Linked DNA regions of Homo sapiens: regions 1, 2, 3, 4, 6 and 7 are each linked to region 5. The links are contacts of gene promoters, found by promoter capture Hi-C in blood cells and fetal thymus (Javierre and others, 2016). All regions are on one chromosome and are shown on one strand. The core of a region is centred on a gene start or on the middle of the fragment in contact, and the rest is flanking DNA. Distances in the headings are between cores, read along the strand shown.

What was found. The method cuts DNA at HindIII sites, captures the fragments that hold promoters and counts their contacts. A CHiCAGO score of 5 or more calls a contact.
Region 1: a fragment that was not itself captured here is called in contact with the fragment with the promoter of UHMK1 in region 5 in 1 of 17 cell types (M1 macrophages); the score reaches 6.4 in M1 macrophages.
Region 2: a fragment that was not itself captured here is called in contact with the fragment with the promoter of UHMK1 in region 5 in 1 of 17 cell types (M1 macrophages); the score reaches 5.5 in M1 macrophages.
Region 3: a fragment that was not itself captured here is called in contact with the fragment with the promoter of UHMK1 in region 5 in 2 of 17 cell types (M1 macrophages and naive CD8 T cells); the score reaches 6.5 in M1 macrophages.
Region 4: a fragment that was not itself captured here is called in contact with the fragment with the promoter of UHMK1 in region 5 in 5 of 17 cell types (fetal thymus, non-activated CD4 T cells, naive CD4 T cells and 2 more); the score reaches 9.6 in fetal thymus.
Region 6: the fragment with the promoter of ATF6 here is called in contact with the fragment with the promoter of UHMK1 in region 5 in 4 of 17 cell types (non-activated CD4 T cells, naive CD4 T cells, total CD4 T cells and 1 more); the score reaches 6.9 in non-activated CD4 T cells.
Region 7: a fragment that was not itself captured here is called in contact with the fragment with the promoter of UHMK1 in region 5 in 1 of 17 cell types (naive CD8 T cells); the score reaches 5.7 in naive CD8 T cells.

The regions. Positions count from the first base shown.
Region 1 is chr1:161,783,560-161,786,758 of GRCh38, reverse strand. ATF6 (activating transcription factor 6) reads right to left here. Exons shown (of 16, transcript NM_007348.4): 4 at 2,663-2,769. Among named protein-coding and RNA genes, the nearest start is that of ATF6, 19 kb to the right of the region's middle. The HindIII fragment of the contact is 396 bases long and covers 1,434-1,829 here.
Region 2 is chr1:161,799,713-161,803,134 of GRCh38, reverse strand. ATF6 (activating transcription factor 6) reads right to left here. Exons shown (of 16, transcript NM_007348.4): 7 at 863-1,083. Among named protein-coding and RNA genes, the nearest start is that of ATF6, 35 kb to the right of the region's middle. The HindIII fragment of the contact is 3,864 bases long and covers 1-3,284 here.
Region 3 is chr1:161,910,515-161,914,137 of GRCh38, reverse strand. It overlaps ATF6 (activating transcription factor 6), which reads right to left. Exons shown (of 16, transcript NM_007348.4): 15 at 1,758-1,842. Among named protein-coding and RNA genes, the nearest start is that of OLFML2B, 110 kb to the left of the region's middle. The HindIII fragment of the contact is 2,384 bases long and covers 302-2,685 here.
Region 4 is chr1:161,747,144-161,750,535 of GRCh38, reverse strand. It overlaps DUSP12 (dual specificity phosphatase 12), which reads right to left and starts at 750. Exons shown (of 6, transcript NM_007240.3): 1 at 391-750. The coding sequence starts at 734. RefSeq lists enhancers at 1-380, 442-951, 2,523-2,572, 2,673-2,752. The HindIII fragment of the contact is 1,306 bases long and covers 972-2,277 here.
Region 5 is chr1:162,496,218-162,499,607 of GRCh38, reverse strand. UHMK1 (U2AF homology motif kinase 1) reads right to left here and starts at 1,790. Exons shown (of 8, transcript NM_175866.5): 1 at 1,340-1,790. The coding sequence starts at 1,607. RefSeq lists enhancers at 1,053-1,553, 1,740-1,819, 1,554-2,054. The HindIII fragment of the contact is 6,861 bases long and covers 726-3,390 here.
Region 6 is chr1:161,764,316-161,767,884 of GRCh38, reverse strand. It overlaps ATF6 (activating transcription factor 6), which reads right to left and starts at 1,565. Exons shown (of 16, transcript NM_007348.4): 1 at 1,443-1,565. The coding sequence starts at 1,524. It overlaps ATF6-DT (ATF6 divergent transcript), which reads left to right and starts at 1,738. Exons shown (of 3, transcript NR_187280.1): 1 at 1,738-2,055; 2 at 2,384-2,461. LOC124904444 (a long non-coding RNA gene) reads right to left here and starts at 1,436. Exons shown (of 2, transcript XR_007066695.1): 1 at 1,079-1,436. RefSeq lists enhancers at 1,558-1,637, 1,668-1,747, 3,287-3,456. The HindIII fragment of the contact is 8,902 bases long and covers 1-3,569 here.
Region 7 is chr1:163,306,416-163,309,867 of GRCh38, reverse strand. The region is part of intron 2 of LOC127814295 (a long non-coding RNA gene); the gene reads left to right. It also overlaps a transcript of RGS5 not described here. Among named protein-coding and RNA genes, the nearest start is that of NUF2, 14 kb to the left of the region's middle. The HindIII fragment of the contact is 4,687 bases long and covers 1-3,452 here.

The DNA.
Region 1 (3,199 bases), core at 382-2,881, 710 kb after region 5:
CTTGTATTATGGCTAAGAAATATCTGTGCTTGTAGGAAGTAGACACTAAAGTATTGGAGTGATAGGGGCATCGGACTGGTAACTTACTCTGAAATGCATAAGGAAAAAACAAGTTATTTGCAAGGTACTCACAACACTTCTGTGAATTTGAGATTGTTCCAAACAAAAAATTAACATAAGCAAAAAAAAAGAGTAAAAATATGAGTGAATTATTTTATAACCTCTCAGTGGTGAAAACCTTCCTTTGAGTGAACAAAAAAGCAATTAAAGAAAAGATCAATAATTTGGCTATAGAAAACAGTACACCTGGGGAAAAATAAACACCAGAAATAAAGCAAAGAGACAAAAGAAAAATTGGGGAAAAAATATTTGCAGCTTATTTCACAAACTAAGGACTAATAATCCTAATATATAATAAAGCACCTAAAATATTAAAGAGAAAAAGACCAATACAATTCAATTAAAAAATGAACGGCCGGGCGCAGTGTCTCACACCTGTAATCCCAAGCACTTTGGGGGGCCGAGGCAGGTGGATAACCTGAGGTCAGAAGTTCGAGACCAGCCTGGCCAACATGGTGAAACCCTGTCTCTACTAAAAATACAAAAATTAGCCGGGTGTGGTGGCAGGTGCCTGTAATCCCTGTAATCCCAGGTACTCGGGAGGCTGAGGAGGCAGGAGAATTGCTTGAAGCCAGGAGGCGGAGGTTGCAGTGAGCCGAGATCATGCCATTGCACCCCAGCCTGGTAGACAAGAGAGAGAGTTCATCTCCAAAAAAAAAAAAAGAACAAAAATTTGAAATGACAGTTCATTTTTTAAAAAGAAATGCAAATAGGCCTTAAACATATAAAACATATGAATAGATATTATTTAACCATACTTATAATAAAAGAGATATAAAACAAAACCTATTGTGGAGTGATGATGGGAAAACAGGCCCTCTTACATACTGCTGATGAGGATGTAAAATTTTACAACCCCTATAGAGAGAAATTTGGCAGTATCTAGCAAAATTCAAGTGTATTTACCTTGGTGTCAACAATCCCACCTCTTGAAATATATCCCAAAAATATCCTGGTAAAAATATAAAGTGACTTATGTACCAGGTTATTTACTATAGGTTATTTGAGTCTGGAAAAGACTTATGTACAGGTTAATTGGGTCTGGAAAAGACTAAAAACAACACAAATACTCATCAATAAGGAAATCACTAAATTAAGCATGATAAGGCCATGCAATGAAACATTATGTAGCATAATGGGAAAATTATATACTCTGAAATTAAGAGTTATCCTGCTAAGCTAAAAAAACAAGGTACAGGACAGGGTATACAGTATGCTACCTTTTGTAATTATTAATTTTTTAAAAAATTAAATCATTTGGAGAAATTGTGGGACCTCAGAGAGCTACCAATAGCAGCAATCAGAGAAAAGCTTCATAAAGGAAGTAGTTTTTGAACTGGGACTTGAAGGATGAGTTTTCCAAGACAAGAAAAAAATGGGGCTATTCTAGGCAGAAGAAAGAGGATGTGCAAAAACCTAGAACTGTAACAGCAGCAATCTCACTGCTGTTGTTCACTGCCAGCATCTGGAACAGTGCCTGGCACAGCGGTTGAATGAGTAGAGTGCATAGGAGCTCTCAGAGAGGAACTCTCACAGGGCTCAAATTAAGGGGAATGTGGAAGTAGGAGGGGATAGCAAGAAAAGAGACTGGAAAAGTAAATGGGGGCCAGATCATGGAAAGCCTAGTACTCTGGGAATTTAAATTTCATCCTTGTAAGGACTGGGAAGTTACTAAAAAGTTTTAAGCAAATGACTGATACAGTAAAGCTTGTGACACTGAAAGATTTCTCTTTGAAGATTCCACTGCTAAGAAAGGTTTGAGGAGTTGTAAGGCTGACCAGTTAAAATCCTATTGACTTAATCCAGGTGAGATAGTGATGGCCTGGCAGGGGCAGAAAAGATAAATCCTTGAATTAATATGTGCATATAACCACCAGGATTTAGTAACTAAATGTAGAGCCTGCAGGAACAAAGATACCACAATTTATAGCACATATAATATACTAAAATATTATTTGATTTTTTTATTCTTATACTTTCCCTTTCCCCATTCTAAAAAGTACCTAAATCAGGTACTTCCTTTTCCTGGCCTCAGGGCTTTTGTCTGGACACAGAGCAGAAGTGTTCTTAAAAGAGCTACCAGACTTCTATAAAAACGTGAGCCCCTTCAAAAGGTAGCACTAGGCATTCCCAAACTAAGGCAATCATTCTAGATGCTGTGACTAAAGAGATATAAAAACTGACCATCTTACATTCTTCTATGTCCATATATAAAGAATGTATATCCTAATAGGGAGGAGAAAGAAAGGGTGGGAGAAAGGACAGTAAGCCAATAAACAAATACTGGATACTGTTAAAATGCAATGAAACAAATGAAACAATGAAATTATGGAGGCATGAACAGAGGGGAAAAGAGAGCAAAACCAAAGGCACTAACAACTTTCTAGCTCCCACAAGGCTCTTTCTTGAGTCTCAGTTCCCTCAATAAATGAGACAATATAACTCATAGTAGTATTCAATAAATGTTAACTGCCTCCTCCATATACATATTTTCCAGATAGCATATTATAACCAAAATCATTGTAAAAGACTGGCTACTCACAGGAACATGCTGAGTTGAAGAATAAGAGTCCACTGACCGAGGAGACGAGACTGAATAACTTGAGGAGGCTGGAGAAAGTGGCTGAGGTTCTGCCTTAATATCTTTAACTGGAAAACATGGAGGAAAGGTTTTACCCACTGGACAATAAAAACTTATAATAAAATGAACAAGAAAGAAGGTAAAATCTACTTTTAAAATTCAATCAGATATGGAAGCTAAGGTCACCAAAATATAACGAGTGAAAATGAAAGATGCAGAAAACAATATATCTAGTATGTTTCCACTTGTGTTACAAATTATATATATATGTGGGGAGGGGGTATATATGTATGTCTGTGTGTGTGTGTATATATATGTGTACACTTGCATCTGCACTAATTCTCTGGAAGGGTAAACAGAAGAAACTGGTAACAGTGGTTGTCTCTGGAAAATAGAACTTGTTGGCTGAGGAATAAAAGCAGGAGACATTTTTCTACTATACAGATTTTTGTACCTTTTGAATATTTTACCATATGCAAAATATTATAGCTTCCCAAA
Region 2 (3,422 bases), core at 103-2,602, 700 kb after region 5:
TACTTTTCAAATGCATTCTACCTAAAGAAAGGATGAAGTAGTAATATTAACAACTAGTAGTATCCATTTTTATTTTAAAGAAAACATACACACTTTGCTTTCCCAATCGTAACTTTAGAGAATCCACTGTTTGACTATATAGCTTTAACATTCATTAAATTTTAGGACCAAGATGTTCAATTTAATACATAAGTTATTTCCAATCATTTTGAAAGAAAGCAAGAGTTAGTTGGCAAGTGCAGTAACTGGCTTTAGAGAGTGACAGGTCTTAGGAAACTATGTGATTTATAAATTATAAGAAATCCCTACAACATGCTAGAAAATTTAAAGGTTTGCAAAAATGGGAAAGTACCAAATAATCACTAAGAGACAGAATTCCTAAGAGTAGCTAGTCATCATTATGAAGTGGTGAAAATACTTCAAAACGGCAAGGAAGAAAGCTAAATATAAAACCTACCTAAAAAGTAATCTATAGACTCTTATCTGAAGATCGCTAAAACATTTCAATCAGGAAACGTTGAATCTGTAAAATATTAGTGGATGACTGGGTTGAGGGTGTAAGGGCTTGAAGAGAATAATAAGAGGGTTGGTTCTAAAGAAGGAGTAAAGAAGAGGGAGGTATGCATACTTTGCTTTTCATCAAACCACTTCACTTTCAAAAACCTTTTCACTTAGATTCTAACGTAGTAAGCCTTACCCTAATTTTCCTCCAAAGACTAGATGTGCAATTCAGCACACTCTTTTATTTGATGCAATATAAGAAACTCTAAAAAAAACAAAAACAAGGCAACAAAAGCAAAAGGTGTTTTTTTGTTGGTTTTTAAATCAGGCATTAAGAGAAGCACTAAGTTTCAAAACTTACATCTGAACCGACATTTCTCATGGTACTTTGTAGGACAGGTTTAGTCACGGAAAGTTTTCCATTCACTGGGCTATTCGCTGAAGGGGCTGGTACCACATTCACCACGTGATTAGGGAGCTGTGTGACTCCCCCAGCAACAGCAAGGACTGGCTGAGCAGAGGGCAGAACTCCAGGTGCTTGAAGTTGTACCACAGTAGGCTGAGACAGCAAAACCGTCTGGCCTGCGTTAGAAAAAAGAAAAGGAATCAAAGGGTACACAACTACTGTGGCAGGGGAAGCAGCTTATAATTAGGTCTTTTCTGCAGACGTAATGGGTAAGATCAACACCAAGGGATTGGACACCATCAATTAAAACATTGGATCAATAGCAGCACACGCTTATGGTGACTTTGTTATGTTTTTAATGTGACCAACTAAATTCATCTCTTTGAGTTATCATTAACAATATACTTTAATATACTTTCTTATTTATCTTTCTCAACTAAACAGCTATCAAATTTGCTGTAATCCCTAGATTTCTAAGAATTAACCTCTGAAATTTATTAGTGCTAAAAGGATTTGTCTTATTATAAATAACAAATCTTTTACACTGAATATGGAGAGTCATGTATTCTAAATTAATAGGATTTACAAATGCATACAATACCAAAAATATCTGAACATAAACTTAGTAACTCAATATTAGAAGAAGAAGGAGCTACAGGCCATGCACTGTGGCTTACACCTGTAATCCCAGTGCTTTGGGAGGCCAGCAGTTTGAGACCAGCCAAGGCAACATAGTGATAGCCTGTCTCTACAAAAAAAAATTTAAAAATTAGCCAGGTATGGTGGTATGTGCCTCGAGTCTTAGCTACTCAGGAGGCTGAGGCAGGCAGATCCCTAAAAAGGACAAAAAAAAAAAAAAAAAAAAAAAGACTACAAATACCAAAAAACTTAAAACCATTTGAGATTAAATCTTAGCTAACAATCACGGTAAACATAAATCTGTGATTCAAAATAGTCTGTAGATGATACCAGCCCTTTCCCTCTTCCCCCAAAAATGGCCTTCAATTCTTTTCTGAGTATTCAGAGGTATCATTATTTTAAATTTATGCTAATCTGACGAGAATTATTAGAGGTTGAACATCCTTAATCCAAAAACCCAAAATCCAAAATGCTCCAAAATCCAAAACTTTTTGAGTGCTGACACAACTTCACAAGTGGAAAACTCCACACTTCTGGTCCTAAGTATTTTGGATAAGGGATACTCAATCTATAATAATGACAATGAAGATGATGCTGTTAACGCTGCAGAAAAAGTGCCTATAGATGACATGGTAAAAATGTGTGATGGGCCTAGTGAAGGACTAAAGCAGCATACAGTCATAACAGAAAAAGAAATCATGTCAGTTTACAAAATCAAAAAGAGACTTCTAAAACAAAAACTTGTTAATGAGGCAGATGACTCCATAGAAAACATTTTTAGAAGTCATCCAGCAGAATGCCTCCTCATCCCTAGAGGACCCACTTCCAGTCTCTCAACTGCTTCTGATGTTTCTTCTCACCTGAAGACATAAAATAGAGGGTACAGTAGGCTTTTAATGAAAACAGCATCAAAGGCAGAGACTGAAAGCTGCCATTTTTTGTTGTTGCTGTTGTGTAGTAGCTGACACTGGTATTCTGGTGATTCTACTGTCCTGCCTTGTTACTCTGCACACATTATTTTTTCACTGTATTAATGGTATGTCATAATTTTTGTTAAGTTCTTAGGTGTGAATTTGTGAATAAGTGTAAGAAAATGATTGCTTGTCAGTAGCATATGAATTCAGAGCCAGGAATGATGGTGGTGCCAAACAACTACAGATTGTCCACAGGAGATAGTGACAACTGTGCTTTCTGATGGTTCACTGTATGCAAACTTGGTTTCATGCAGAGAATTATTTAAAATATTATATAAAATTACCTTCAGGCTATGTGTATGAGATATACATGAAACATAAATGAATTTCATGTTAGACTTGGGTTCTGTCCCCAAGATATCTCATTATGTATATGCAAATATTCTAAAATCCAAAAGTACCCAAAATCTGAAACACTTCTGGTTCCAAGCATTTCATTTAAGGGGTACTAAACCTGTACCATTAACCTAAAGACTTATACAACTCATAACACTAATCTATTAAAAATTTTACTTGCCTGCTAAGTGTTTCCTTTCAGATCTGGCAGATTTTTATAAGGTGCTGAAAGCCTTGCCTAACATCCACAGCTGCTTGAGCCTATCTAACAAAATGAAGGTACTAAAATAACTGGCAACTAAAATATCATGTAAATTTATAATTTGTTTAAGAAAAAAAAAGCATTATGCTTTCAGACAGGTTGACCCATGTAAAACTCAGCTCAATATTTCAAAGGATCGGGGAAAACTAAAAATCAAAATAAAGCTTCAGAACACCTGTTTGTCAAGAACATCTGTCTTGGCTAAAAAAGATAACTTATAAAAGCAAAGCCCTTGTTTCAGATGGCCTCAAAAAACACACTGAAAGTAGCAGAATTTCAATAAACAGCATTTTATCCCAGATAA
Region 3 (3,623 bases), core at 244-2,743, 590 kb after region 5:
ATTTTGATTTTTTAATAGGACTTATCCTAAAAAGGGAAGTTTTTAAAAAGACTATTTACAAAGAGTCTGAAACAGATTAAAAAGACAATGATCCTCTAATGACTGGATTTTTCCAAATCCATGAAAGGCTCCTCTTCAAAAATCAGTCACCTGGCCAAGATAAACATAGTCAAACAGCATCTTGTTGGTTTTGGCTTAATATAAAGATAGCTCACTGTTACAAAATAAGACCAGGCATTCTCTTGCATAAGAACCCAATATCAGAAGAACAAAATTAAGTGAATTCTGCCTTGATAAAGCTTAGAAAATAGCCTTTCTGAGCATAAGCTGACCCTTTGGTCTATTCTAGTTTAGGCAGAGAAACTTAGGTACCTATAGATTGAGTATAAGTGAGACTTCCTAAATACATTCTTTGGAATGTAATAAAATGCACTTTGGAATATATTCTTCTTCAGGTAGTAAATGATTATTCCATGAGTAACTTCAAAGGTATGTCTTTACTGAAGAAAGAGATGTTCTTCTCAATGTTACTGTTTTTCTTAAACTTATTCTGAATGTCTTTGTAAGGCTAAGTAAATATTGTAATTTTTATGCTTTAACAAAAAGCCCATTTATGTTTATGTCTATGAAGTTACTTCCTAAGCATTTCTAATAAGCTGTCTATATACAGATCATGAAATTCTAAGGTCCTCTATGGTCTTAAAATGTATGATGAATACCACTTTTCCCCTAAAGACTAAATTTTATTGAAACTTATCTGGAATCCCCCCAAAATTCTAGTGTTTTGTTTTATAATTGTATTTGAAGGTTTAATTATATTTATCAATCAAAATGTGAACTGGTTCGACTGCAGGTTAGTTCAAAGGGCTTTTCGTTTCCATCTTCTTCATATACTGAGGTTTTTGCTACCAGACAGAAAATTTACTAGTACCTACATTATGTGAGATACACAAACTTGAAAAAGATGGCCAACTCTCCGATTTTCAATATAATGTGTCAGAGAAAGCAATTAGTCAATAACATACACTGTGCTCATTTATAATCCACAACTGGTAATGGGAGTGAGTTATTTCACTTCTCCATGAAGAATCAAGCTGAAAGTAATCTCTTTTCACTAGATTTCTTAGTACCTCACATATTACTTACGTGACTTTCTCTTTGGAGTACAGTGATTTTTGTGCTTGTCTTTTTTTTTCTTCTAAACTATAAGCAGGTATATTATGCCTTAACATCTGTGCATTATATTATTATTTGTATTTTGTTTAATGTCCAGGGCTAGTAATATAACAAAATGCAATAGTAATACTATCAGTGTCAAACTCATCAGTATTATCAATTAAACATAAACAGGCTTCTGTGGCATGGTCTAGGATGATATCAACATTTAGGTAACACAGGAAACTGCTTTGAGTTCCAAAAATCTAATTTACAAATTCACTGTCAGAACACAGCAGGGGCTTCTTACACTACATTTATGACTAGAAGGGTCGCAGATGCAAGTCTGTAGAGCAGTCAAGATGCTAGCTTTTCCAATTTTGTAAGTAAAAGAAAGCTACTTTTTCTTTTAGGGATGTAGTAATTTTTTTTAAAAGAATAATGGATCTTAAAAATAATAAAACAGTGGAAAAATGTTTCAGAAATAATGTACGGATATATACTCATTTAACTGAACATTTTAAATGTCTTTGAACTAATGAAGAGAATCCTGGTTAAACAAAGAAATCTCATATTGTTCATACATCAGAATTTCAACTTACCATTTATGTTTATTGCTGGTAACACAATTGACATTTTTGGTCTTGTGGTCTTGTTATGGGTGGTAGCTGGTAACAGCAGGTGATCCTAAAATTAACAAAGAACAATCTGTTATATATAACAATTGGCTTAGTCCTAGAACAGGCCAAATTCAGGGCTTCTAAGAGGTCAATATTTCGTTGGGATGATGAAAAATTATAGTTTTTATTTGAAGTTGGCTTAATTAACTACAAACCAGCTTAGAATCATTCATTCATTAATGTAATACACATTTACAGAGTGTCTACCGTTGTCAGGCACTATGCAGTGATCTTGGAAAACTCCTAGGTTTTTACAACACATATGCTGTAGCACCACTATAAAGAATACTGGTCAAGCAGTCAAGACAAGGGATTTTAATTCTAATTCTGCCACTAAATAGCTGTATAATCTGGACAAGACTACGTATCCTTTCTGTGTTTCAGTTTCCAGTCCTGTAAAATGATGGGGGCTAGACTAGATAATGTCACAAGATACTGAGAGTATCTCCCCTAAACAGTCATTCTCAAACTTTTTTTTTAAAGGCAATAAACTCTTTTTCCCATCAAAATTCTTATCCCAGGAATTTTCTATCTGTAGAAGAAAGAAATTATCAACATGTACAAGAAAGATTCTGACTGAAGCAGGGCCAAGGCCTAGAGCCTTGCCTGCTTAGCCTCCTCTTCTCCCTTTGAAGGGACCACAGAATTAGACATTTATTTGCAAGTGACAGGTGCATGCTAAAGAAGTTGTACAGTTTTTGCCCTTAAAAAGCACACAGTTTGGTAGAAGAGTTAAAGAATTATAAATACATGCCTAGCACAATTGTATAGTCCTACACTGTGCAGGGCATCTGAGGTTTCTAATTTCCAGCACACAAGTACTAAAAGTAAGAATAAGCCAAGAGAAGCTTGGCTTCAGAAAAGGCAGAGTATAAGTGTTTTGAAAAATGTATATACATCTGTAGGCATTCTAAGGCTGATTATAAATGACTTATGACTTTGATATTAACTACTGTTTTCAGTAACTCCTCTTCTTCCTAGCAAAAACATATGAACTGTTACAGAAAAAAGAAAAAAAGAAGTATATTAGCATTTCCATTTAAGGGAGCATGGTTAAACTGGAGATAAAACTAAACCTAAGTTTGATGCATTTTGCTTTCTTTTCTTGTTCCTGTGTTCATTGTTTCACCATTCATTCAACAAACTTACTATATGAAATAACTCATCAAAAAGTAGGATCTGATACAGCTGAGAGCAATAAAAATTCAACACAACTTCAAAGTTCAAAGTTGATATGATTATGAAGTGTGATTATCAGCAAAACTAAGAAAAAAATCTAAAAAGTGAAAAACAAATTGAAATTGATATACATGAACAGAACTGTGTAGAAAACATTTCCAGTAACTGCTTGTATTTTGTGTAATTCAAGGCAACATTTCCATGAGAACATGTTTTTAAAAATTGGGGAGGAGAGAGAAGATGAGTAAATTCTGTTAGAATTCCAGCATTGCAGCAAGGGAATTTTTTGTTTTGTTTTTTTAAGTGCATTGTTAGACACAAAGATCACACATTTCTGATTAAGATAACATTATAACCAAGAAAAAACAGAATTTGCTGATCTTCAAGCCATGAAAGTTATACATAGCTTAATTCCTATCATTAAAATACTGCTTCAGGGTCTCTAAATTGAATGTGAAAACAAACCAAAAAACTTGCAAGCCCCAAATTAAGGCTATTGTAAAAATAAACAAACTTAGATTCCACTGGTCATGGGTTAAGGTCAGGCTCAGACTTAATTCTGAGTTTCCTGCTAAGATACAGATGCCATACTAATTGTTGTTTTTAAAC
Region 4 (3,392 bases), core at 375-2,874, 750 kb after region 5:
TTAACCCTAAATCTTTGTAAATCCCGTTTACAAGACACCAAGCAACCTAATCTGCATTACAATAATCGGGGTGGGTGTCTAGCTTCTCCAACAGAGCTGTAAACTCCTTAGGGTGTAGGTAATTTGTCATTTATCAGATGACACCTCCCCCGCCCTCTGCTGCTGCAGGAAGAACCAACTAAAGCATGAATGAATGAAAGCCTGCACACACCAGGGGCCCGCCTCAACCCTCCTCCTCTCTTGGAAACACGCCTCCTGCGGGAGGCAGCGGGAGGAGGTTCACGCGGCATGACCGCGCTCTTGTCCTCCCGACGGCCTCGGAAGGTAAGGGGCGACGGGGGCCGGCTGGAAGCTTGGCGGGGCACGTCACCCACTGACCCGGCCACTCACCAGTGCACCAACACCGCACGGCCCTCAGCGCGGGCCTGACCGATGAAGGCCACGCACCGGTCCAGATGGCTGAGTAGGTCCGTCTCGGGTTTGTCCAGCGCTGGCACGAAGAGGCGCCATAGATCCTCGACCCCAGGCCCCGCCTTGAAGCTGGGCTCCTCCGAGTCCACTGTTAGCACGGCCGTGATGCCCGCTTCCCTCAGGTGATCTGGCTCCGCGACGGCCGCGGCCCCACCGAAATACAATCCTGGCTGCACTTCCAGCATCTGCCCGGCACAGCTGACTCTGCTGGCGCTGGGGTTGCTGAGCTCGCAGCCATCACTCGGGCCCGGAGCCTCCAACATGGCCGCGCCCAGAGACAAGGCGGCTTCCTGCCCTACCATCGAGTAGACTCCGGCTAGAACATCCTTCCCCTGGGACTCGCCAGCCTCGGCGGCTCTGCTGCTCCCTCGGAGGACCACGTCGGCCGCAGGAATCTGGACTTATCGCTGAGGGGCGGAGCTTCGGCCCCATTCAGCGCGGCCTTTCCACCCTTGTTCCCTCTGACCCCTACCCCCAAAGTTGATGGTGAAGGATAAGCTTCCCCAAATACAGGGTTTCTCGAGCTCTTAGTATTGAAATTTTCAGGAAAGAGACATCAGGAGCAGCTGAACTCAAATGTGAAATAAATGTCGCACCAGCTGAATCAGAAGCATCATTTTATGCATTTGAAGTAAAATTTTTTTCAATATTATGGAGCCATCTTTACTGTGCATTTCATGATTATTTTTCCTTTTTCTGCCCAATTTCATTATTGGGGTGTGAATCCTTGTTGATGTTTACTGTCTATTTATTTTGAAGATACTAATCCTATATTTTTGTAAGTCAATGTCCTCCGGCCAGGACTACAAGAAACCAACTTTAATTAAGCAAGTTGGTTTTATTACTCAGTCATGAGTTATGGAGAATTTCAGGGCATCTCAGCACGAGGATGTTAGGAAGATCCTCTACAGATTTTGGGCTTTTATTTGGGGATTTTGGAAAGGGTTGAAGGAAGCAGGCTTTGCTCCAGACTGAATGCTGCAGGAAGATACTCAGTACAGTGAGTATATTTTATATATCTTTTGTATAGGGAGGACAGGTGAGAGAGATACTAAAGCTGTAATTGGTCAAGAAGTAGCAGCTATAGTACTGGTATAAAGATAGATACATCGACGTGTCTCTATTCTGGAACAGAACAAACCCTTGCGTGTGGAGTCCTAATTAGGGAAAAGGAGTCAGGCTGGCTGGACGAAGGGAAGCAAAAGGAGAAAGCAGACAAGCCATAAGTCTGCCTTTCTTCGTGGTCCAGGACACATAGCCCTGCTGTGCAAATAACTCACAATCTGCCTGTGCCCAGCCATCACCAGACCCTCAGCTGATAGAAAAATGGAAGTTAGTTCACTGCAACCCTGGCATTATTAGTACTGCACAAAGCCCTCTTCCACCCACAACATAAGCACCATTCTACAAAATCCCCAGCAAGCCTTTGTTTCCTAGCAGTCAGCTTCTCTCTTGCTGACCTGCCTGTTGCACCCTTGCAATGTATTTTCATACTTTATCTAATAAACCTGCCTTTCTTTACCTACAACTGTGTTGGTAAATTCTTCCTACCACCCATGTCACCAGCCCAGAAAGCTGCTAATCACCTGCAACACTGCATATATGTTAGAATAATCTTCAAAAAGAGTGCCAAGACCACACAATGGAAAAAGGACAATCTCCTCAACAGTGTTGGGAAAAACTAGATATCCACATGCAAAAGAATGAAGATGGACCTTTACCTTGGACCATACACAAAAAATAACTCCAAATAGATTAAAGACCTAAAAATATAACATTCTTAGTAGAAAACATAGGGGGAAAGCTTCATGGCCTTGGATTTGATAAAAATGTTGAAACAGGTAAGGGTTAATGGTCTCATTGTCTAAGGTGTTATCCGAACTTGTCTAACGACCGAGAAAACTAAGGAGCATGGGCACAAAGAGTGAGGTTGAAGCAAAAGTTTAATAAGCAAAAGAAGAAAGCTCTCCACAGCAGAGAGGGGAGCCCAAGTGGGGTGCCATTTTTACAGCTGAATTCAAAACCTATTATAAGAAACTCCTCTCATCTCTATAGTTGTTTGAGTAACTTCTCTTATGAATAAATCTGTCTGTGCAACTTCCCTTATCTTCTGCCGATGTGGGTATGTCTCTAGGCAAGCACAAAGCGTGGGTTCTCTTGTTTGTATCACTGTAGGTTTGTTTTAGGTAAGCCCCCCTCCTTCCTGTGCAAGTTCCCACGGAGTCCACTGTGTATATACCTGAAAAGGGGAGGAAAGTTTTTCCTGGGAGCTCGCCAATTACACGAAGAATGAAAAGCGTCTGTGCTGGACCCTACCTGCTTATCTGTGCAGGTGCAGCCTGAGTTTTGCCTAAGCTGCTCTATTTTGTTTGTAGCTGTGATTTTTCAGGCAGACTGCTTCTCCAAGGGCTAGCCTTAGCTGTCTACCTAACTGATTTTTCCTTTTCTTCTCCCTCAATTTTTTGGATAAAATACCAAAAGCACAGGCAACAAAAGCGAAAATAGACAAATGGGACTATATCAAATTTTAAAGTGTCTGCATATCAAGCAAAACAGTCAATAGAGAGAAAAGGAATTTGTATGGAATGGGAAAAAATAATTGCAAAGCATATATCTGATACGTTAATATGCAGAACATATAAAAAACTCCTACAACTCGACAACAGAAAAACAAGTAACCCAATTTTCAAAAAACTGGGCAAACGACCTGAATAGACATTCCTCCAAAGAAGATATACAAGAGGCCAAAAAGCATAGGAAAAGATGCTCAAATTGCTAATCATTAGAGAAATGCAAATCAAAACTACAATAATAATATCATCTTACACCCATTAGGATGGCTAGTATTTTTTTCAAGCACAGAAAATAAGTGTTAGCAAGGATGTGGAAAAATTGGAACGCTTATGCATTGCTGAAGGGAA
Region 5 (3,390 bases), core at 541-3,040:
ACTGTTGCATCATGAGGTCCTTTAAAAAAAAAGAAATTTTTAAAAGTAAAAACCCAAATATTAAGTAACTCTTTTAAAAGGAATGTCACAATGCGCAAAAACCAAACTAAACATTGCTTCTTCATCCAAAACAGCAGTCTAGGTCTGCCACGGTGGCTCATGCCCGTGATCCCAGCATTCTGAGAGACCGAGGCAGGAGGACTGCTTGAGCCCAGGAGTTTGGAGACCAGCCTGGGTAACAAAAGGGGACCTCTTCTCTACAAAAAATTAGCCAGGCTTGGTGCTACGTGCCTGTAGTCCCAGCTACCTGGGAGGCTGAGGTAGGAGCATGGCTTTAGGAGGAATTGGAGGCTGGAGTGAACTGTGATCTCGCCATTGTACTCCAGCCTGGGTGACAGAGTAAGAACTTGTCTCAAAAAAAAAAACTAAAACAAAAATAAACAGCTCTCTATAATCTAAATACTAACAAAGAGATTAAGACTTTTCGGATGAAATTTTAATCTTGCAGAGATCAGGCAAGTCCCTAGGCTTGCAAAATTTTTCCCTTTTCAATACCAAGGTTATAGTAACAGACCATTTAGTAAACTAAAAAAATGTAGCACTAGTGTTAATTCTTCTCCAAAATGATATTATAAAAAAACTCACTCTTCAAATTAACTATGCATCATACTTGCTAGGAAATAAGACTTTTCTTTAATAACCAAAGCTATAACTAATGATAAGCTTTCTGTCGTGTAATGAAAATGAAACCTTTTCACAGATCAATCATCAGTGATCATTACATATCTTACATTCTGAGTATCTGATTCTTGAAACAGTCTCAAGAGAGCAAAGGTATAGTGTTCCTAAATTTCACACTTCTATAAAGGCTCCCATGGAATAGTGCATCATTTCTTCCAAATCCGTACTAAAGATATAATAGGTGAGCTATACGAGTTACTAGCATTGATGTCACAAGGCCCAGACGTAGTTCCCATTTTCTACTGGTATGCAAAGATTCAAAAATTTCCACACAAGACACGACAATCTAGCAAAGACATGCCTCCTCTCACTAGAAAAGATATTTCTGTATGCTAATGAATGCGGCATTCTCCGATGAGACTCGAAGCAAGACAATTTACTGAGCATCTATGTGACACCTGGCAAAGCAGACCACCAACTCCACTATACCGCAGACAGTAATAAAGTGAAAGGGGAAAGGGGCCTGGATGGGGTGATAAAGAGGGCTAAACCCGCTTCTCCCGCAGAAGGGGAGGAAGATGGAACGCCAGACAGCGAGAGGAAGAGTGTGCTCGGACTGTGACCTGGGCAAGAAGAGAAAGGAGACAGCGGCAATTACCGATGTTTCTGTGACCCTGCAACTGTTCCAGCGCCGCCCTCTCTTTGCGGAAACCATACTCGGCGGCAGAGGCCGCAGCCCCGGTGGTTCCTGGCGGCAAGAACTGCTTGAGGGCGCCGGGGGGCGAGCCAGGGTTGCCGCAGCAGCGAACCCGATACACCGAGGCGGAGGAGCCGCTACCCAGACGGCTCTGTACCTGCCACAGCCGCCCGAAGGCCTCCAGAAAACGCGGCGGCTCCGCGCCCCAGGCGCAGCCGGATCCCGCCATCGGTGTGGGTTAAGGGCACGGACACGGGAGCTGACGCGACGCCTGAGGCAGGCCGGCCGGGCCCGCGGTCACATCTCCGCCAGCCGGACCAGCGGCTCCGCAGGGAGGGACCTGCAGCCGCCTCACCGACTCCCGGGACTTCAAGCAGCCATGACACCGGAAGCCGTGGTGCACCCGAGTCCCAGAAGCCGGAAATGGAGGAAGAGCCTATCATACAGGCCGAAGGAGGGGGGGCTCAGAAGGGGCGGGGCCTAGAAGAGATTAGACGCGCTAGGTTTGGAAAAAAGAACCGAGAATAAGAAGTAACCTTAATTATTGAGTATCTACCATTCCAGGCCCAGTGTTAACCGCTTTCACATAGACCTGAAGCCAAAACTGGTCCTTTTTCTTGTTGAGGCACCTCACCTTACCTCACCACTAGGAACCCGAAAAATAAAACCCGGCCTACATTTCTCATAGAAAGGATCCCAAGGAAAACACCCCAGGAACAAAAAGAGAGTTTACCATCACCTCCAGGTCCACGGTCACCAGAACCCATGATTCTGGAAGCCTAGACCTTTGTTCTTCTTTTAGATGTAAACCGAAAATACAATTCTAAGCCCCCCGTGTCGCCAACCATCGGAATGGACTTTCTCCCAGGCCAGGGCACTCTAAAATTCTGGTTCAGTCCATGACGGGAAGTGGGGGTCCGACTAGCCTCATACCTCTCCGGTTAAGGTCAACACAGACCTTCGGTCTGGTAAGAAACATTTACAATCTATTTTCTTGGAAGCCTGGTACCTGGAGGCTTCATCTGCATGACAAAACTTTGGTCTCCACAAGTTCTTATGACAACCCAGACATTCCTTTCTATTGATAACTCTTTCAACCAATTGCCAATTAGAAAAATTTTAAATCTACCTATAACCTGGAAGGACCCATTTCTCCCCCCACCAATTCCCGCTTCGAGTTTTCCCACCTTTCTGGGCCAAATCAATGTATTTCTTAAATATATTTGATTGAAGTCTCATGTCTCCCAAAATGTATAAAACCAAGCTGCACCCCAACCACCTTGGGTACATGTTCTCAGGATCTCCTGAGGGCTGTGTCACAGACCATGGTCACTCATAGTTGGCTCAGAATAAATCTCTTCAAATATTTTACAGAGTTTAACTCTTTTTATCAACATAGTCCACCTTGCCTATGGCTCCCTCATCAAAAAGCATTCACCCTGGGCAAACACGGATCTGTTCCAAATTTTTATTTTTCATTTATTTATTCAATTATTTTATTCATTCAGCAAACGTTTATTGAGTAACAAATGTAGCAAATAGGCATCTCAATCCACAAACTCGAGTGTGTAAGAAATGTAGCCTTCTTTACTTTTCAGTCATTCAACCTTTTCTATTTCAAGATCTATTCTGATTGTGTGGCAAAAACTTAGTATCAGACAATAGGCCCTATCTTCTTTTCTTCAGGTTTTGTGTAAGTTCCCAGCCAGATGAGATGGTTCATGTAGTGCTAAGTGGAAAGTTTGAGGAGAGGTTGAGGACTAAACTCTGACCTGTCTTCTCTCTTGCTCAATTTTTTTTTTTTTTTTTTTTTTTTTTGGTAAGACGGAGTTTCGCTCTTGTTGCCCAGGCTGGGGTGCAATGGCATGATCTCGGCATCTCCGCCCACCGCAACCTCCTCCTCCTGGGGTCCAGCGATTCTCCTGCCTCAGCCTCCCAAGTAGCTGGAATTACAGGAATTTGCCACCATGCCAGCTAATTTTGTATTTTTAGTAGAGATGAAGTTTCTCCAT
Region 6 (3,569 bases), core at 316-2,815, 730 kb after region 5:
AAACTCCATCTCAAAAAAAGAGGTAAAGAAAAGAAATGTCATGAAAATATAATAGCTGACTAGCTGACAAAATAAATCATAACTACCCAATATATTCAAGTAGTCTTATTAATAACCAGGGATCTTAGGAAGAATAAAATCTGTAGACATGAGTTAGGAAAGCATTATAGAATAGATGCTAGGGGTACAGACTTTGGAGGTAGAAAAACCTGGTCTGATCCTTCTTCTGCCACTAACTAGCTCTAAGAATCTGAGCACAAATTCTGTTAGCCTCAGTTTCCTCATCTCTAAAATAAACAGTACCTCATTGGACTGTTGGTAGGATTAAACAAAATACTTCATGTCAAGAGTTTAACAGGGTCCCTGACACAAAGAGCTAAATAAATGGTTACTGTCACTAATGCATTTGGCTTGGGAAAATGGGAATAAAAAATCTTAAGTTTTCCAGCAACTCTTAAAAAATCTACCCAAGGATTAAAATAAATCTCCAATAGAATATAGTTTTAGAGAACATCTGTCCTTGAAACAATTAAATGACTTTGTTCAATAAAAAGTTGAGATTCCTTCCACTCCTGCTATTGAGAATGCTGATCCAAGGGAGAAAGATAAACTGGGTTCCCCCCAGTTCCAAGGCTGATGAGTGGTGTAGGCTCACTAGCGGGCCCATTTGGGAACCTACACAATCCCAAATTCATATTGGAACCTAAGAACAATATTACTATTATATCTTGCAATCAAGAGGAGAATAAAAGTCTCCTCTAAATACTTAGATAACAAAGTTTCTTCATTCTCATTTCCACTTCATCCCATTCCACCCTTCCTGACCACCAAAACCAAACAAAATATCCATTAACAAGAAAATTAAGAGCTGTATCTGGAGAGCAGTCAGGATTACACCATAAGTATTAGGTGTAGCTAAGCAGGGACCCGAGGTCAGGTGCTTGGGTGTTTTGCTTTTCTGCCAAGACGGACATCAGGCTTAAACCAATAGTAAAAGCTGTAAGATTAGAATTTCTTGTATATAACCACATTCTCTCATATACACCAAACACACAAAAACCCACTCCATTGTGCTCACCGCCCACATTTCACACTCAGGAAATAGCTTGTAGCCTTTTTGGCGGTCCCAGCCATTTTGCTCTAAACCTCCTAAAGACGTCCAGTGTTAGCCACACAAAAAGATCACCCGGTACTTCCCCAGTGGGAATAGTGAAAAACGACAGTTAACTCCAGTTAGACAATATTCTACTCTCCCTGTGGCCAGGACAGAAGCCGAACGATACTCCCAGACTCTTCCAGGGGCACGAACAGGAGTGACGAGGGGCCTCACTCCCCAGGCAGGGTTGGTCCACACCTGTCACCACGAGTGGGCGGAAGTAGGGAGGAAGAAACCTTTAGACGCGAACCCGAGCCACCCTGGTACATTCTCAGATCCCACTCACCCCAATCTTCATCCAGCCTGTGAAAGAGTCCCGGGCTAAAAGGTGACTCCATGGTGCCGGCAACCCCAGCCGGCTCCCCCATTTCACAAGTTCCTTCTCCCTGGAACTCCGTGATTAATATCTGGGACGGCGGCGGCAGGCGGACAAAATACTCCGTAACGCTGACGAGACGGTGGCCTAGTAAAGACAAACTACTTTTGCCGCACGAGGGATTTGTACGACACAGGAAAACGTCAGAGACTAAGCAAATTTGAATAGACCTCTGAGTAAATATTTCCCTTTTGGAGTTTTCAGGACTTTCTGTCCCGCTGTTTTATGGGGAAGGCGGGGGAAGACACGCAGACATCAATTCGACTAAACAAAGTTTATCAATAATATTAAAAATAAAAAGTAAAGCCCCTTTCTGAACATTATGGCTTATTCCTTGATTATCCTTCTTAATGCCACAGCGTGGCTATCTCAGAACAAAATTAGAGACTAACAGTAAATTTACTTTAATTTTTACGAATAATTCTCTATCAATGTAAAAATTTTTCATATACGCGTGTATGAAAGAAAAACACTACTATTTTTCCACATTCGTGAAAACTGCTTAACTGGGACAGTAACCGAGGTAAGTGGTACTATAAAACATACTTCTAGAAAGACTACTTTTATTTAAATAAATTGAAACAAAGCAAATATAAAAAGATAAACCCCCCAAATTTATCTCCTAAAGATAAATTTCTAAAGCATAGTATTTAGTCAAAGTCCAAGCGAGTCTACCCTAAGACCTACAGTAATCGAAGTTCCCAATATTTGTATTACTAAAGATTCGGGTTTTATTTAAAGGAAAATCACATACATCACGAACTCCAACTGAAAATATGAACTGAGTTTGATAAAGCAGTTTCAAGAACGCTACTTAAGAGAATTTCTTTTTCATCCATTTTAAATTTCAGCGGCCAGTGAATATTTAAAATACTGTAACCGACGAATACGTATGCTTCTAGGACCACGTGGAATCTTTCCCATGGTAGGTAAGCAAAACAAATGTGCTTCCCAGAACCCTCCAAACTGCTCGTGGGTATATTACTACAGATTACATAATGCAGCAGCGTTCCGGGACGCAAGCCCAGAAAAAGATAATTAAATCCCCTTACGTCAGATGTAACTACTTTTGTCATTAGAAAACTAATAAATTTTCACTTAAGGTGAAATTTATAACACTTTAATTCTCACCCAATTACAAATTCAAAAATTGACATAAAAAACTAAAATAAGGCCGGGCGCGGTGGCTCACGCCTGTAATCCCAGCACTTTGGGAGGCCGAGGCGGGCGGATCACGAGGTCAGGAGTTCGAGACCAGCCTGGCCAACATAGTGAAACCCTGTCTCCACTAAAAATACAAAAAGTTAGCCAGGCGTGGTGGCGGGCAAGTAGCTGTAATCCCAGCTACTCGGGAGGCTGAGGCAGGAGAATCGCATGAACGCGGGAGGCAGAGGTTGCAGCGAGCGGAGATCGCACCACTGCACACCAGCCTGGTCGACATTGCGAGACTGCGTCTCAAAAAAAAAAAAAAAAAAAAAACCTAAAATAAAATAAAATCATCGAGTCTTCTGTATCCCACTAGACACCTTAGTCTTTTAAGAAAATCACCATGACAAATCGCCAATTTTTTTAATTTCCAAAAGATTTTATTTTTATTCAAAAAGTGCAAGTAATTATGAAACAAACATTTGTGACCTATCACCAAGAATTTAAAAATTTAACATTTTTCATTTTTGTCCCAGATTTTTCATAAGAAATTAAATACTACAGAATTGAATTCCTCTTTCCTCCCTGCTTCATTTTCCTCCCTTGGCGTAGGCCACTTCTACCATGAATTTTATGGGTATAAAATTTTATTTTATAAAAATAAAAGTGTAATTCTAGTCCACTTTTATTTTTAGTTTTACGGTGCTTAAACATGTTTATAGACACATGCATTTAGTGTCATTTGGGTTTTTTTAATGTATGTAAACTTTAATGTTCTCCAAATCATTTTTCTTATTGGATATTAAGGATCTACCCATGGTATTTCCTTGAATGAATCTCAATTTCTCTCTCTCTCTCCCTCTTTTTTTTTTTTTTTTTTTTTTTGAGACA
Region 7 (3,452 bases), core at 712-3,211, 810 kb before region 5:
AGTCTTATTATTTGAGAAATATATTTCATAAGGCTAGACCTGCTTCAGTGATTCCTCTTATAGATATGGCAAAGTAAACTGAAAACCTTCTGGAAAGGATTCACCATTCTAGATGCCATTAAGATCATTTGTGATTCATGGGAGGAGGTCAAAATGTCAATTTATTATAATAGGAATTTGGAAGAAGTTAATTCCAGGCCTTATGAATGACTTCATGACTTTAGTGGAGGAAGCACCTGAAGATGTGATGGAAATAGCAAGAGAACTAGAATTAGAAGTGGCACCTGAAGATGTGACTAAATTGCTGCAATATTATAATAAAACTTGAATGGATGACGAGTTGTTTCTTTTGGATAAGAAAAAAAAAAAGGTTTCCTTAGATGGAATCTATTGCTGGTAAAGATTCTCTAAACATTGTTGAAATGACAGCAAAGGATTTAGAATATTACAAAACTTTGTTGATAAAGCAGTGGCAGGGTTTGAGAGTACTGACTCCAATTTTGTAAGAAGTTCTATGGGTACAATGCTATCAAACACCATCACATTCTACAGAGAAATCTTTCATGAAAGGAAAAGTCAACTGATGTGGCCAACTTCATTTGTTGTCTTATTTTAGGAAATTGCTGCAGCCACCTAAACCTTCAGCAACCACCACCCCCGCTTTTTTTTCTGTCACCCAAGTGGGAGTGCAGTGGCACTACCATAGTTCACTGTAACCTCTATCTCCCCAGCTCAAGTGATCCTCCTGCCTCAGCCTCCCAAAGTGCTGGGATTACAGGCATGAACCACTACACCCAGCCTATCAGTCATCACCCTGATCAGTCAGTAGTCATCAATACCAAGGCAAGACCCTCTATAAGCAAAAAGATGATGACTCACTAAAGACTCATATGAGCATTAGCATTTTTTAGCAATAAAGTATTTTTAACTTAGGATTTGTGTATTTTTAGACATAATATTTTTGTACATTTAACAGACTATAGTGTAAACATAACTCTTTATATGCACTGAGAAACCAAAAAATTTGTGTCATTCCCTTTATTGTGATACTCACTTTATTGCAGTGGTGTGGAACTGAACCTGCAATATCTCTGAGGTATGCCTGTACATAATTATGTACTATTTTATATTGGTTTTGAGTCATTTCATGCAGGTAAATTTGATTATCTCAATTAAATTGCAATACCTTTAAAGTCAAAGACTGAGTCTTATTTGGACTTTTTATTCTCATGACAGTGAACTATTGGCATGGCTCAATCCATTGACCTGTTTTGGTTCCTGATGAAGTTTTGTTAATTTAAATGAGAAAAATAAGGACAGTGAAGTAAGTTTTTTATAAAACTAAATTTATTTGGCTTATAAAACAGTTTAATATTATGCCTTTCCTATATTTTTTGTGTTATCTCTTTTTCTAGATGATTATAATAGATGATAATTTTTAAATGTTTCTATTTGTCAAAGTACAACATTGTCCATCCTGTGTCAGTGTCTAACTTTTCCTTGTACTTATTCAAATAATCTCATAGTTGGAACTTATTACTTATTGTGTCACACAATATGCTGGTAAACACTGAAATGGGGAGGGGTTATTTTCATTCTATTTTAGAATGGCACAGTTTCTATGGTATAGTGACTAATCTGAACTAATATGTAAAAGATTAAGATTCACTTGAGAATCATTTTCAAAGAATAACTTTTTTAAATGTAGCACACTGCTGACTTGTGTAAAAATTAAATGTGATACTGAACTTGTTTGAAACTCAAATTTTTGGACCCCACCCACAGACCAACTGAATCAGGATCTCTGGGTTTAGGAACTTTAAACTCACACTTTAAAGTAGTTCTGCAAGTGATTAGGATGCAGATTGTTCATGGAGTTAAGAACAACTGCTATCCTAGCAGGCTGATACAGATGTAAGTTTCTATCTCATTTCTGCCAGTTACTGCTCATTATTTTCTGGATAAGGTTTCTAAACATCTTTAAGTCTCAGTTTATTCTTCTATAAAATATGGTTACTAATAAGGCTGCTGTGGTGAAGTTTAAATGAGATAATGGATATTAAGTAGTGTTACAATGAAGGTGGTCAATAAATATTAATTTACTTCTTTTCTTTCCTTTGAAATTCCGTTGTACTTCAGTGATGAGTAGTATCAAGAATTTCTGATTCATGTACTAGACATTGCTTTTGGCCGCAGATCTCATCACTGAACCAATCATGTGTTACTAAAGCTCCTTTTTTTTTTATTACTCTTAAAGCCAAAGTTATCTCACTTGCCATTAAGTTGCAGAAGTACAGTACTTTCCTAATCCGCACGCTTCTCTGTCTCCCATCCTTAACCGGCATGGGACCCAGTGGAAGGATTAATGGACTAGAAATCTTTTGGGTATTGATTCCTGCTTAGTAAAATGAGGGACTTTTTCTACATGATTTGATATTTCCTTTCTGTTAAAAAAAAAAGTTCTCACTTTCATGTCACACATAAAATTGAGAAGACATTGTTAAGTTCTCCAACTATTTTACCACTTGGCAATGTAGACCCCTAGATTTATGTGGAAGAAAATTATTTCATTTCAGAGAAGAAAATAAGTAGAGGATCTACTAGAATCAATTTTTACTTGACATTGTCATCTCTTTGACTTAGAAGAGGGATGTGGTAGAGAGAGATAGCAGCTAGAGATCTAAGGGCAGGAAAACCATGCTTTGAGGAACCTTATCCCATATCAGAATCTCAGTAGGTCTTCCCTCTGTTTCAGCCCTCACCTCTTATAGGAGTTGTTCCCAAGTGGGAGGGGAGCCCTTTTTATATATTCAGAATATATATAATTCAGAAATTAGGAGATTAGAATTAAGGTATAATGCATCAGTTTGCTAGGGCTGCCATAACAAGTATCACCAACTAGGTAGCTTAAACAACAGAAATTCATTGTCTCACAGTCCTGGAGCCTAGAAGTACTAGATTAAGATATCAGCAAGGTTGATGCCTTCTGAGGGCTGTGAGGATGAATCGGTTTCATGCCTCTCCCTGGCTTCTGGTGGTTTGCTGGCAATCTTTGGCATTCCTTGGCTTGTAGATTTATCACCCCAATATCCTTTATCTTCACATGGCATTCTTGTGTGTATTTTTGTGTCCAAATTTCCTTTTTTTAATAAGGACATTGGTCATATTATATTAGAGTAAGACCCAACCTAATGACCTCAGTTTAACTTGATTTCCTTTACAAAGACCCTATTTACAAATAAGGTCACATTCTGAAGTATTTGGGATTGGGATTTCAACATATCTCTTTTAGAGGACACAATTCAACCCATAAAACATGGCTCACAGCATCATGAGCCAGAGGCCTTCCTGGGCAGGATCTATATAAATAGCCTGATGGCTCAAACCAGGGCAAATATACCAGCTTGCCTCAGAACAAAATGCAATTCCTGGATTTTTACCTCCTTTGAAAA